2 separate regions of the Homo sapiens genome follow, and region 2 is linked to region 1. Evidence: promoter capture Hi-C in human tissues and cell types (Jung and others, 2019). All regions are on one chromosome and are shown on one strand. Each heading gives the region's core, a stretch centred on a gene start or on the middle of the fragment in contact. The rest is flanking DNA. Distances are from core to core; before and after follow the strand shown.

Evidence for each region. Contacts are between HindIII fragments. The study calls those that stand out against the background at their distance.
Region 2: a fragment that was not itself captured here is called in contact with the fragment with the promoter of EEPD1 in region 1 in 1 of the 25 tissues and cell types used here (spleen).

Annotation. Positions count from the first base shown.
Region 1 is chr7:36,149,946-36,157,313 of GRCh38, reverse strand. It overlaps EEPD1 (endonuclease/exonuclease/phosphatase family domain containing 1), which reads right to left and starts at 4,060. Exons shown (of 8, transcript NM_030636.3): 1 at 3,640-4,060; 2 at 2,112-3,181. The coding sequence starts at 2,989. RefSeq lists a silencer at 3,929-4,648. The HindIII fragment of the contact is 14,356 bases long and covers 1-7,368 here.
Region 2 is chr7:36,353,790-36,361,157 of GRCh38, reverse strand. MATCAP2 (microtubule associated tyrosine carboxypeptidase 2) reads left to right here. Exons shown (of 7, transcript NM_001199706.2): 2 at 3,568-4,256. Among named protein-coding and RNA genes, the nearest start is that of MATCAP2, 9.8 kb to the left of the region's middle. RefSeq lists an enhancer at 334-1,051. The HindIII fragment of the contact is 3,813 bases long and covers 2,585-6,397 here.

The DNA of each region.
Region 1 (7,368 bases), core at 2,811-5,310:
GTCAGAAAGAATATCACAAGGTTGAATAATTATAAGGATGATCAAAACAATCAAAGGGGAAAATAAAAATGACAGTTGTACCTTGGTATCTGCAGAGATTGATTCCAGGAGCCCCTGTGATACCAAAATCCATGATGCTCAAGTCCCTGATATAAAATGGCATATTATTTACATATAACCTATGCACATCCTCCAGTATATTTTAATTCATCTTTAGATTACTTAGAATGCCTAATACAATGTAAATGTTATGTAAATAGTTACCATACTGGATTGTTTAGGGAATGACAAGAAAAAACTCGACATGTTCAGTATAGACACAACTTTTTTTTTTCCTGAATATTTTCCATCTACAGTTGGTTGAATCCATGGATGTGGAACCCACAGGTATGGAGGGCCGACTAGACCTGGAAAGTTCTGCATGAATTCACTAACCCTGCCAGAGGAAGGGGCTTCCAAGAGACAGAGGGACAGCTGATTGCCTAACACCTAGTACAATGGTTCTCAAACTTTAGTGTGCATCAGAACCACCTGGAGGGTGTGTTAAAACACAGAAACAAAGTTTCTGAGTCAGTAGCTGATGTTGCTGGTCCCCAGGGGGGACCACACTTTAGAAACCACTGACATAATAAATAGGCAGGGGCTGCCTGGTTGGTCAGTCCCACTGGACCAACTTTTGATCCTAATCCATCACCCCCCTCCCAAATTGAGCCACTAGAAAGCATAATAGGAATTAAGCAGCTTTGTCTTTCCTGCCTCTCCCCTCCTCATTTCCCATTCACACGCCCATGCTGCTATGGATAAAGAGAACAATTATCAAGCCATTCTTTATAAATATCTCCCGGTGCCGAGTACAGCTCTCACCTGTGCACAAGAAGACTTTGCAGAAGGAGTGAGTTAGGCTGCAAAAGAGAGGACACAGCAGTGCAGGGAGAGCATTCAAGGGCTCCCCAGTCCAGTTCCCTGACCCAGTGTGGAGTCCCTCTCTCAGTGATGAGAGCATGCCACTGGGTCAGTGCCAAGGAAACGTTGTGACCTGCTTTTCTCCTCACTAATTTTCCTGGTGATCTGCCATCATGCACTGTGATTTCCCGCTGAGAGTTCACTTCGTGTCACCAAACTGCTGCCCCCCCGCCGCCAGCCTCACCAACAACTCAGTGCAAAGGAAATCAACGAGTAGCCACAAACACTGCACCCCTGGTGGGTGGCAGGGCAAAACGCCTCAAGTCCAGGATCACAGCTCTTATGACCTGGAAGGGACCATCACAAATATTTCTTTCTTTCCCACACCTGATTACATTATACAGTTTGCTATTTTACTAACAGCAGGAGTTACTGCCAAAATAATATTGTTTTTGTTTATGACGAGGCTAACAGAAATTCCTACAGAGAGCAGTATTGTGAATAACATAAACGCTCTGTGGTAACGGCCTATCCTACTGGACTCTTTTCTTTGGTTTAAATGGGGAAAATCCGGCCAATTTTCACACACACACGTCAGCTTGCTTTTTTCTGGCTATGGCACAGAAAAGGTTACACACATTTTGGGCTACAATTTTAGGGCTGAAAACCAACTCCAGGTTAAATAAGGAAAAAGAATGGAGAGTGATTCATTCATAGCATTTTGGTAAATATAGACACTTGTATGTGTTTGCAAATACTTGGCCTTTAAGATGATTTTGTGTGCACAAATAGGCATATTTGATGGAACAAATATGATTTTCCCTCCCATTAATAAACAAAATCCAATGAGCTCTTTCTCACATGCGAAACTGCACCAGTTCCCATGCTCTGAGTGCCTGACTTGGTGTAGACCCAGCATCCTCCAAAGCAGTAACAAAAACACAACCTCTGCTTACCCCAAAATTATGAATCAGTCTCAGATATCTCACACTCAAGACATGGGTCACAAGCCCAGCTGTATTCAGAAAATTCTGGAGCAGAAGGACAGCCCATTCTCAGGTGACGGTATTGGCTGAGGCTTCAAGAACATTGATTAAAAACTCTTGCACCCTCCCTACCCGCAAAAGAATCCATTCATTTGCATCCATAGATGAGGTCACGCACAAGTTGCCTTCACACCCAACACCCATGGTGGTTCCTGTCCTCACCTGTTTTCCAGGAGTGTCATGCACACCACCTCTCGCACCCCGGGGTTGTTGGCCTTCTCCACGGAACAGCCCTGCAAGTTCCAGGTGGCCAGCCTCAGCACAGGCCTCCCATCCCTTGTGCCTCCAAAGGCCTCCACGGACGGCCGAGTGGAGATAATCTGGGTGGGCCCCCCTGGCGGCAGGTCCAGGTCCTCACTCTGCAGGCTCAGGGAAGTGGGGCTCGGGTGAGGCTTGGCGGTGAAGGTCAGTCCCCCGTTCGTGTGGGTGGATGGGGGCCTGGACCTCTCAGCAAACACCTGGTGCCGGATCCTGTCCAGGAAGGCGGCATTGATACCATCCATCCTCACTAGGTCCTCAACGCTGCGAAAGGGCCCATGCTCACGGCGGAAGTCCACGATGCTGAGGGCCATTTTCTCCGAGAGGCCTCGCACGCTCATGAGCTGGGCCGGGGTGGCTGTGTTGATGTTAACACGTGGGGTGAGGGGCACAGCTGTGGCCAGGTGGTGAGGCTGCTGCTCCGCTAGCAGGTCCCGCCGCAGGGAACTGGGAGAGTGCTGCGCTGAGCTGCCCTTGCTGCTCACACAGATCTCAAACTTGACCTGCTCCAGCTTGGTGGCGCCTACACCACTGACCAATGCCAGGTCCTCCACCTTCTTGAAGCCACCGATATACTCTCGGTACTCCACGATGCTGCGTGCCACGGCACGCGTCACCCCAGGCAGGGTCATCAGCTCCTCCTCCGTGGCAGTGTTGATGTTGAGCCGCTCCTGATTCACTAGAATGTTGCTGAAGTTACAGGCTGCGCTGAACTTGCGGCTATGGGACAGGTCCGAGGGGTCCCTGGGGATGGAGCGGTGGCAGCCCAGGGTGCTCCCCATGGTCCGCCAGGATCAGGCTCCCGGGAAGGCCGCACCACTGCAGAAGAGCTCTCTGGCTAGGGAGGAAGCCCAGTAGGCCGTACAAGCACAGAAAAACGGAAGGTGCAGGATTCAGGGACTGAAGAGGTTACTATAGACAAACACCGAATCTTCCATGCCTGGCGTGTCCAAAATTACCTTTCACTTGGCCGCCTAGAAAATAAATCAATAAACATAGAAACCCATTGAATTAAGAAATTTGCATTAGCACCCCCTACCTAGTGCTAGAGTTAGTAACCAGGAGTCGGGGACTGGTGGCTGCCCGTGAACCCCTAAAAACGCAGGCACAATGAGGCTAGGCCCATGTGGATTCTCCTCTAGGGACGTCCGGGTTTTATCACACTGGAGTCCAAAAAGGCTACGAGCCGCTTCTCTTGGGAAGAGACCTATCCCCATCAGCCTCATGCCTCTCCTCCAGGCCTCTCTCAACTCTGACACTTGGGTCACCCACACTTGGGCTCGCGCAGACGGGGTGGCCACTCCACCTCCCCCACGCTCCGCATCTGACACAGCGCTACCTGCAACCTGGGAAGTCCGTGCTCCCCGGAGCGGGCACTGAGAAGGGGCTTATCGACCCCCCACCCGACCTGCCGCGGGTCCCCGCGCCCCACCTCTCGGCCGCTCTGCGGGGCGCCGGTTCCTCTTCCACCTGCGGCTCGGAAGCCTGAGCCCAGCCCGGGACAGCACGGGCCCCCTGCCTCCAGCCTAGGCGTCCGCGCGGGTGTGGGTCACTGGTCAGGCCCTGGAAGCCGACTACGCCGCTTCGGTCTGCGTGTCCCGGCTCTTTCTATGGGAGAAACTTAGCATCGCTCTCCCAGAGTGAATAGAAGCCGCAGGGCTGCTCGGAGGCGGCGGCAGCGGCGGCGAAACCCGCCGCCGAGGCTGCACCGGGGCTTGCGGCGGCGCCGCCGCAGTTGCGTTTACCCCGGCAAAAAGTCCTGCGCCCAACTCGGGCGGGGATCCGCCAGAGCCAGTCCAGACCCAGCACCAGCCGCACGGCTCCCGCTCGCAGTCGGTGTCAAAGCCAAAGTCCCGGCCGCGCCGCGCCGCGCCGCTCGCGCCTCCGCAGGCACCGCGGCCACGCCTCCTCCGCGCGGCAACTCCTCCCCGGGACTCCCGAGGGCACGTGGGGGAGGGGCCCTGGCGCGGGGCGAGGCCTGGCACCAGTGGGTGGAGAGAGGAACCCGAGAGCGCAAGGGCGGGCCTGGAGTGGGAGAGGCGGGGCCATGGAAGAGGGGGCGGCATCAAGGCTCAAGAGGGTGGAGAACGAACCAGAGAGCGCGAGGGGAGGCCCTGGCGTGCGAGAGGAGGAGCCATGGGTGTGGGGGCGTGGCCTGGCACAAATGGGTGGAGAGCAGAACCCTGGAGCGCGTGGGGCGGGCCTGGAGTGCGAGAGGCGGGGTCATAGAGTGTGGGAGCGGGGCCAGGGCGCGATGGGGTAGGAAAAGCGGGGGCGGGGCCATGAGCGCGGGGGTAGGCCCCGGGAGCGCAGAGGCGGGACTTAGGGGGCTTAAGGGGCGGAGCCGGCGCCGTGCCGGCGAGGGCGGGTCACAGGGAGGCTGTCCTAAGTCAGCTGCCCCCGGACCATGGTTGCCGCCCGGGGCCTAGGACTGGTTGTGCCTGGTAGAGGCTGTTTAGGATTGCCCGAGGCGAGATCTGCTCAGCTGCTTTTCGTCTGTCTTTGAGGTGTGGGGATGAAGGCCGGGGCAGTCCCTGAGAGTGCATCGCTGTAGGTCCAGGGTCTCACGGAATTTTGCAGAACGTTCCAGAGGAGACTGAATGGGATCGTCTTAATTTCTGTCCCCACTTTCGGCCTTTTCTTTTCTTCCACCAGTGTATTACCTTTGCTCCGCTCAGAGAGATGTCCTCTAATAACGCCAGCGACGCATTGTGCTCCTAGCAGAGGGCACGCACCACCCTCCTGTGTGTTCGCATAGGTCAAATACAGGTTTGCTCCTTTGCACATTTAGCGCTGTGAGTAAACAAGGATAAGTTTTTGTAATATTAAGTCTAATCATTACGAAGGAGGGAAATGGGGGCTGCTTCCCAAAACCCAGAAGAGTTTTTGCATCACACTGCTAAATGACAATTTGGTTAAAGATTAAAGAGCCCTCTGCATTATAGTGGATACCTAGAGCTAGAGTATTCGATTAAGCAAATCATGCGGTGATATCGTTGAATACTTTGACCCTGGACGTTTAGTGTTCTCTGAAGTTTCATCCCCAACCAATGTGACCAGTGCATCTGGTTTCAATTCCAAGGACTGGGTCAGCAAAAATAGTACCTCTCACAGGCGGAAGGTACTTTGGTTGTAAAATTAGCGGCAGCCCAAGTTTGGAAAATGCTACTGCCTTTCTGAGGCACATTCCCCTGCTATGTATATTGGTCAGAAAACCAAGTCAAACTAGCTTAGACCAAAAAAAAAAAAAAAAAGGTCGGGGGGAAATTTTTGGTTCCTTGTTGAAAAGTTAAGGTAAGGAATCTTACCTCAAGTCTGGTTGCATCCGACCCAAGTGATGATGGGGTCATTAGGACATGGCAGGACTGCCTCCATCTCTGGCTCCACGGTTCTCTTTATTGGCTTTATTTTTAGGCAAGCTATTTGCACTTGATCGCAAAAATGCCTTGCTACCTACCATCATCTCCCACCCAAACACTGGGCTACATTATGCCACGCACTGAAATCCTGGTGCGGTAAGGAAAAAACAGTTTAAGACAAGCAGGAAAACAGAGAAAACTCTTCGTTGAGCAGAATGCCTTGATGCGCAACGTGGCTGTGGAAGCACAGCCGTGGAGCGTGGCTACTTGGGCTGGAAGCAGAGAAAACATATTTTATCATACAAACCAGGACACTCTGGAGGTGAAGAGAGGACTCTATTAATAATATCCTAGAACAACAGAAATAATCTGGTTTTATTCCCCATAAACCTAGCAAATGCTCCCCTTGGTATAAATGAAACCAAGCGTTGGCCAAACCAAAGTGCATTTAAAAACACACATACATACACCCCACAAAAACATGCAATGAGATGGTTAACTTTAAAACGACTGATTGTATCCAATGTTGGTGAGGACGCAGAGCAATTGAAATGGTCATACATTGCTGGTGGAGGTGTAAGATGGCACCACTACTTTGGAAATCAGTTTGGAAGTTTCCTAAGAAGTTAAACGTATACTTACCATATGACTCAACCAATCTACTTATAGGTATTTACCAAAGAAAAAGGAAAACATGAAACCCAGAGACTTGAATGTGGATGTTCATAGGAGCTTTGTTTGTTATAGCCAAACACACACACACACACACACCCACACACACACACACACACACACACACACACAAAGCAAAACAACAAGAAACTCAAATCCATCAGTGGATGAATGAATAAATTGTAGTATATCCATACAATGGAATGCTACTGAGCAATAAAGACAAACTATTACATGACATTGAAAAGTCTCAAAATCGTTATACTGAGTGAAAGAAGCAAGGCAAAAAAGAACATACTGTATGATTCTATTTATATAAAACACCAGAAAATACAAACTGACATACATATAGAGAAAGCAGATCAGTGGTTACCTGGGGATGATGGGGAGGGAGGAATGGATTTTAAAGGGCACAAAGAAACTTTGGGGGCTGATGGCAATGTAGTTTGAGAGGTGATAGTTTCATGGGCATATGAATGTCAAAACTGACAGAATCGTATACTTTAAATATGTGCATTTGGGTGTACTTCAGTGACAACAGCTTTGGAAAAATCTTCAAAAAATGAAAAAAAATTTTCTCTGAATCTAAAAAAACATAGGCCTTGTTTTTGGGGAGAGTGGGGTACGTGAGCCTGGGTGGAGATGAAAAGGTTTAGGAGGGGGATGAAGGGGTCCAAGAAGTTGAACAGACAGCTAATAGAAGAGAACATTCCCCAGCTTGGCTTGGGGGCTCAGGAAAGTGGGCGACAGAGGCCTTTAAACTTACGGCTAACAGTCTATTTTATCTGCTGTGCTATTTCATGATGCAATCCTCCCACCCCTACCCCATGCACAGACACTAAATTTTGTAAGATATGTATGTAATGGCCATCAATAAGTTATGTTTAGGAGAGATAAAGTAAGGGAGCTGAATCTTTCTGGGTAAATTAAAGACAGAGAGAAAAAGGGCAGCTAAAATATGAAAGATGGGTGGGAGAAAGAGCCAGGATTCAGTGGAAGCAGAAAATCAGAATACGAGGAGACCCAGGGAAATACCTGACTTTCAAGAATCCTCATTGAGATTGGGAAGTTGGCTCGGGTCCCATTTTACAAGGAATGAGGGTTTTATTTGCATTTTATTATTTAGGGCT
Region 2 (7,368 bases), core at 3,242-5,741, 200 kb before region 1:
TTCTAGATATATACTAAGTTTTCATTGTGTTGATAACTTCAGTATATTCACCTACTTGCGAATAGACTATCAATTTTAATGTACAAATATTATTTACCCTTTTTTCCTCAGTATGGGTAATCAGGTTGGGGTGAACGATTTTCTTCTATCAACAAATTATTTTCATTCTCTCCAATATAGTGAAACAGATTGCTTATAGCTAAGTTTTACATTATATAATGACTACCTTTAATGTGAGAAAGTATGCTTTTTAATTACCTTATTACTTTTCTGGGAAAACACGAGTTACACTTCCTCCAAATAAGTCTGTTTATGCTTTTAAAATGTTTTAATTTTTCAGGAAAAAGGATTCAGAGAATAGGATGTTCTTTAATAAATTGTGTCAAATGTTATCGGCCTCTTAGTGTTCTTAACCATGTTCAAAAGTCTTTTTTTCACAAAGTAAGCAATAGTATTTAAAATTACAAAAACAATCTCTTAGGTTCTATGATACTTTTTAATGTAACTGAAATACAATTACTGTGACTCTGAGAAATTAATTTATATCCATCTTGTATGAGTTGCGTGAAGGACCATGTGCCCCACTTTTATGAACTTCATGGGCTATCCAGCATTTAACAGGATTGACATTTGTAAAATAAATAGACCATTAACACTCCCAAACTTTATTCAGCAGCAGATGGAGCTTCAAAAGGACTCGTGCTAAGCTTCTCAGGAGATAATTAGCAAGTGAACTGAAATGCTGTAATTCCTGGGGAGAGAGGTTCTGTCAGGCATATACTGTCACCCCGCTGCCATACTTCATTCCTCCTTGAGTATTTTGACAGGTGGTTTAGGACGTTTTTTTTTAGTATCTGGAAATGTGTAGGCTGTTTCAGATGGCACAAAATTATGAATTTGGAGGTCACTGATGCTTTACGACAAAAAACTCAGCAAGCTCAGTTCTTTGGTCGTAAAGCTACTAGGTCTTAGAAAACAGAGCATTTTCACATTGAGTATTCATTTTTAAAAAATCAGTACAACATATATGTAATGAATCATCAAAACAAATTCTTCAGAGTAGTCTTATTTATTGATTTTAATTTGGTGTAACTCTGTCCCTTTTTATTACGAAGATCAACTGAGAAAACAACCTGATTTCCTCCCTTTACGTTTCCGGCTACACCTAGTCCTTACCCTACTTCCTAGGCTTATGCTTATTTGAGTTCTTTCAGTCTTTCCCTTTTTGTATCTATTTCGGTTTTCTTTTCATTATCACCTCTTGTCTCCTAAGCTTGTGGTGTCGTTTGAGGGAAACCGACATTATTCCTGGGCATTTGGGCTACAGCCTGTGTCCTGGTATTCCTTAGCCTGTTTGCTTGGCCTGCTCAGTTTTGACTGTTAGTTGGCAACACGTAAGTCTATGAAACTCCTGAGAAACTGGGAGCTACCAGCCTATGATGAACGTTTTGTTTATTTGTCCAGTTAATTTTGTCTTGTTGAGTCTTTAACATTTATTGAACAGCTTCTTTGTACAACCTGTCTTCAACATGACCCTATGTGATCTAGCTCCTATCTCTAAACTTACACATATAATAGACATTTAGCCCCTGCAAGCTTTAGAAATACCTTTATGTTATCTTTTAGACACCAAAATTCAGATTTCACATGCTGGCCTAGAAAATGTAAGTAAAAGGACTTTTAAATACCTTACATATTTGGATTATTATCTACTTTAGTACTGTCTCTTTACCCTAGACTCTGTGACTCCTGGGTTTTAAAAACTAACATTTAGATAAGAGTTTCTCTACCTTGATACTGTTGACATTTTGGAATGAATCTTTCTTTGTTGTGGGAGATTGTCCTATGCAGTGAAGGATGTTTAGCAGCATCCCTGGCCTTTACCTGCTAGATGTCAATACCCTCTCCCCAGTTGTGACAACCAAAATGTCTCTAGACATTGCCAAATGTTCCCTGGAGGGTAAAATTGCCTTCTGTTAAGAACTACTGGTTTAGGGTCTTTCCTGTTATATTTTCAGGTCTGCAGTTATCTCATATTTGAATGGTCCCAGAACTACAAGTACATATTTATTCAGAATGGTTGCAGAATTGCATGTTTAGGGTCATTTATTTATTCATTTGTTTATTCAGTGAACACTTATTGACAGGAGTTGAGCTGGAGTCTTGTTCAGATGAGATGTATTTAAGACAAACTCTTCATCAGTTTAGAATTGAATCTGAAAACCCTTAAGGGCCTACTTGAAATCTCATCTGTTTCTCTTCATATTGCTTCCTTCCTCATCTGAACTGTAGGTTATTGTTTGTGTCTTTTGTTTTTCATGTTTAATTATATACTACATTGTATTATTGTTGAAATCTTCATAGGAATGCCTTGTCTTCAGAGCCAGATTAGAAGCTGGTTATAGGTAAGAACAATGTGTTTATACAGTTGTTTATCAGAGCCATGTGCTGAATTAGTAGCATTCTACGTATTTGTTGAATGAAAGAATGCAGATCAACACAGTTTTAAAGTAGTGAATGCACAACAGTATATCCAGTGATTCTTATCTGTTTAAAGCACTTGTGAGTTCTAAAAACAAAGCTGCCCTCTCCTTCACTTGCCATTTGATATATTAATACCTTTGTAATAGTTATTAAAATTTGTTTTTCTAACTTGCCAAGAAAAAACCCTTGTTTTTCTTTAACCTTAACGTACAGCTTAGAATTATGAAGAAAATCAACCAGTTATTCATACTAAGCGACATTACTAAAACATGCTTGAAGATGCCATCTGTTTAATCTTAACAATGGTTTTTGAGTAAATAAGGCTTTGTTGTCCTTTTACTGATAGCTACCTTTATATATATTTCCAAATTTCAAGATTGTATTGTCTTTGAAAGTGCCTTGGATTTTACTTTATTATAGAAAATACTATTTTAAAATATATCATTTCTATGAAATCCACATTCTTTTTTTTTTTTAAGATAGGGTCTCACTCTGTCACCCAGGCTGGAGTGCAGTGGTGCGATCTCAGCTCACAGCAACCTCTGCCTCCCGGATTCAGGCAATTCTCATGCCTCAGCCTCCTGAGTAGCTGGGATTACAGGGGCGCACCACTATACCTGGCTAATTTTTGTATTTTTTGGTAGAGACAGGGTTTCACCATGTTGGCCAGGCTGGTCTCCAGCTCCTGCTCAAGTGATCTGCCTGCCTCGACCTCCCAAAATGCTGGGATTACAGGTGTGAGCCACTGCGCCCAGCCAAAATCTACATTCTTTTGTAGAATCAAGTATTCAGATTATTTATGTATATTATCTCACATATTAGACTTTGATCATCTAAGTGGTTTGAAGCTGAGGATTTTTTAGATAATTTAACTTATATATACTCATAGAGAAGAGAAATGACAGTAGCTAGCGTGACCAAAGTTTAGTAATATATCCTTTTAATATTTAAAATGTTTTTTTCTAATGATTACTGCAAAATTACGAAGTTTATAGAATCTTCAGAATACCTTTCCTAATAAACAGTTTGCTTCATCTGGTATCTTTGTTATTTCTTTTGTTTTGATTTTGTTTATTAACACAGAAAAGCTTCACTGGCCTGAGCAAGAACTTGCTAAGAAGTCTATTCTAAATGCAGAAGATTCATTGATCATTGACAACAAAAGAAGCATTTCACATTTGTCCTCGGGAGTGCTAAAAGACATTTTCACAACTGGAACCAGTAGTTACAATGTCCTACTACAGAGCAAGGAGGAAAAAAAGTATCATTCACAAAAACAGTCTTCCTCCACCTACTCCAAAAGATGTAGAAAACCCAGCAAATCTCCTAACACTTCTCGTAGCAAAGATCCTCGCAGGATGAAAGCCCTGGTGCCTGTGACAAGCAGTGGTACTTGGTACTGCCTGGAGAGGCGGCCTGCTGTTTTTGTCACTAGTTCAGTGTCAAGTCCTGTAAAGTTTACACATGATATCTCTGTTACAGGGAATGGCATAGTACTGCCACCTAAACCCAAAAGCAAGGTCAAGTGGTGCCATTTCTCCACTCTTCCAAAGCCAAAGCCTCAGCTGTCTAGAAGCTTTGAAAAGGGAGATGACTTTTCTGGGAAGAAATTTTGTATATTGACTGCTATAAAACCCACCAACTTAGAGAAAGAAAAACTGAGATTCTTCAAATCTGACTATACCTACAATCCTCAGTTTGAGTATGCCAATCCTGCTCTGCCAAGCGTATTAGCTAAGCATAGCCACGCATCTGACCGATTTCTTAAGCAGGTAAAATGCCATTTCAATAGTGGTAGTTCATTTTTATGTACTAAAACAATTATCTGTGATCTTATAAGCAAAAACAAAGACATTTAAAAATATTCAAATTATTTCTATGTTATGGTTAATTCCCACTCAGGACATGTAAATGTGCGACAAGACGAGTATTACCTGTATATAAACTCCATTGCATTCATCAAAATTTATAATCTGTTATATAGGCTCTTTGTGACAGGAAGCAATTATATTAGGAAGACAGCTTCAGATTCTGGTTCTAAGCTTTCATGTGGGAGTTACAAACTTGTGGCCAATTTAGCCGCCTACAGACAAGTGTTGGGTAGCCCACACTACGTTTTTGTTTTCTAATTGATTTCTTTGTTGTTTTTTGTTTTTTTCTGAGACAGATTCTTGCTCTTTGCCCAGGTTGGAGTGTAGTGGCACGATCTTGGCTCACTGCAACCTCTGCCTTCTGGGTTCAAGTGATTCTTGTGTCTCAGCCTCCCGAGTAGCTGGGACTACAGGCACCCGCCACCATACCCAGCTAATTTTTGTAATTTTAGTGAAGATGGGGTTTCACCATTTTGGCCAGGCTGGTCTTGAACTCCTGATCTCCAGTGATTTGCCCGCCTTGGCCTCCCAAAGTGTTGAGGTTGCAGGTGTGAGCCACCATGCCTGGCCTCTAATTGATTTTTTAATGTCTTAGATGGAGCATGCAATCCCTGGTTCTTCCTATTGTGTTAAATTCCTGGCTTGCTTAGGCTCCGGTAAGTAGTTTGGGAACCGAAGCTTGATTCTTGTCCATGAACTTGTTAATGCTTCACTGAAATTGTTAATCATCATCAAATAAATATTTAAGCACTTATTCAAAGATAAAAATAATGGGATTTTCAAAATTATCTTCAAGTTTAGCAAATTATGATGTGAACGTTATGAATAATACTTTTAAATTGCTCACTTTAAGCCCTTAGCAGTTTTGTGTTTTACAGGGCTATAATACATTTCAGAACCTCATTTAAGCATTTGAGAAGAAATTAGCTAATGTTTATCTGCAGGGCATAGTTTTGAGATCATAAAGGCCGACAATATTTGGTCAAATTAACTTTGTTCAGGTTTTTATAATATATTAGCTTCAACTTGGCATTGTCAGTGACTGAAAATCTGTTTGTAGGATAGGTAAAACTGCATGGTTCTCTCGCCTGTGGTGCATGTCCTATTTTAGCATTTTTGCTGATAATAGTTATTTGGTCTTGCGGCCAGCAGATATTTTGCTGTTTATTATAGATAACATGGAATCTGGCCAGTCTTTTGAAGCCATTATGTAAAACTTAATTATGTAAAGCCATTATGTAAAGATTAAAATAATTTTAATCATGGTATTTACTTTCCTTTGTTAGGGTCTCTTTGCTTCTGCTTCTGTATTCTTTAATGGGTATTTGCTTTTTAAAAAATGTGCTGAGATTGTGCTAAAAATTGTGATTCAAATTGATAACTTACTAATATAAAGTGGCACTTCTGGATGGGAGAAGGCAGCATTAACATAGTGATTACATAATCCACTCTTAGGCTGTACTACTTCCACATTGTAAAATGGAGTAAAGAAAATACCTACTTTAGGAGATTATTTTGATAATTAAATGAGAGAATGCTTAGTGCATATATTGCAGTTATCATCGTGCTTGGCACCTACAAAGCACTAATAAAGAGGTTAGCTGTTATTTTTATTTCTATTTGGCAGCCATTCTTACATGTGGTTTTTTGTGTGTGTGGAAATTGTAGTCGATTGAACAAGGCTTTCACAAATATAAATTTTACAATGATAAAAATCCTATTTGCATTTTCCCCCTGATGCTGAAAGAGATGGCTGAGATTTATTTACCAGTATTCCTTAATTTGGAGACCTACCCCACCCCTACCTGTTGGGAAAGAGATTTCCAACCATTAGATGAAAAAGAATGCTCTTTGATTTCTCTGGAAGGCAATTTGGGAGCCTCAGCAGCCCCACAGTTTGAGAGTTGACATTGCTTAGCCTGTGGCTTTGCAATTTTAATTTTGATCCAATTCCAGCTTTAGGAGATTAATCCTACACTTGAATTGCTTGAGACTTCTAAGTAGCACTAGCAATCTTAGCTGACTTGTACTGCAAATGCCACCATTTGGGAGAATATTCTCAATAAATGCCAAGTATACTGTTTAAACCACTTTAATCAAAGAAATACATGGTACAAGACCTCTGGGAAAATATACTTAAATTCTTCTTCAGCTACCGAGTGAATAATGACATGATATCATACATCCATCTCCTCCTTAGATAAAGCAGCAGCTTCAAGGCTGGTCTCCAGGACTCAGAAACATGATACCCAAAGGGGCCAGGATGGCCAACTAGCCCCATGGTCTCTGGCTTCTACCTTTGAGGCCTTGCCAATCCACAGCTGACAGTCTCTTGAGTTTCACAATCTGAATCTTGGTAAACAGGCAATCTGTATTGTTTTGGAGGATGATTGTGGTCCTCTTAAGTGCACAGATTAGCAGAATGATGCTAGACTTTCGCGCACAGATAAGTCTGCCACAGTGGAACCGAGGCAGTGCTCATGCTCTGTTCTCCCCATCATTGTCAAGGAGTTCCAGGCCTCAGGTTTTTTGGTCTAGGCAGTATGTCCCTAGGGAGGCACTCAGACCACTGAGGTGATACAGGACATACAGCAGGCTGCAGGACTGGAATATAACTCTAGGTGTAGCCTGCTGAGCCCTGGCTTGCTGCATGCTGGCAGCCATGGTAGCCTCAGCTTCCTGACTCTTAGAGACGTTTAAACTTGACAGAAACTCAAGATGTCTGTTTTCTGTGGCTTTGGACCTTTGCAGGAAAGAGTACAGTGCTTCATAGGTGCTAAGGAAGGGATCTGGAATTAGAGCCTGCAGAAAGCTACTTGGGGTCAGGTGCATCCTCACCAGTGGGTCAGAAGTAGATTCTTAGTGGTGCTCTTGAGCAGTAAATACTTCAGATAAAATCTGCATATTATCTTAAGTTCATGTGAGTTTTGCATCATACTTCATATTGTATCTTTATTCTAATAAAGAAAAATGTAAATTGCCTATCTTCAAGTAAAATGGATACTTTAAGAAT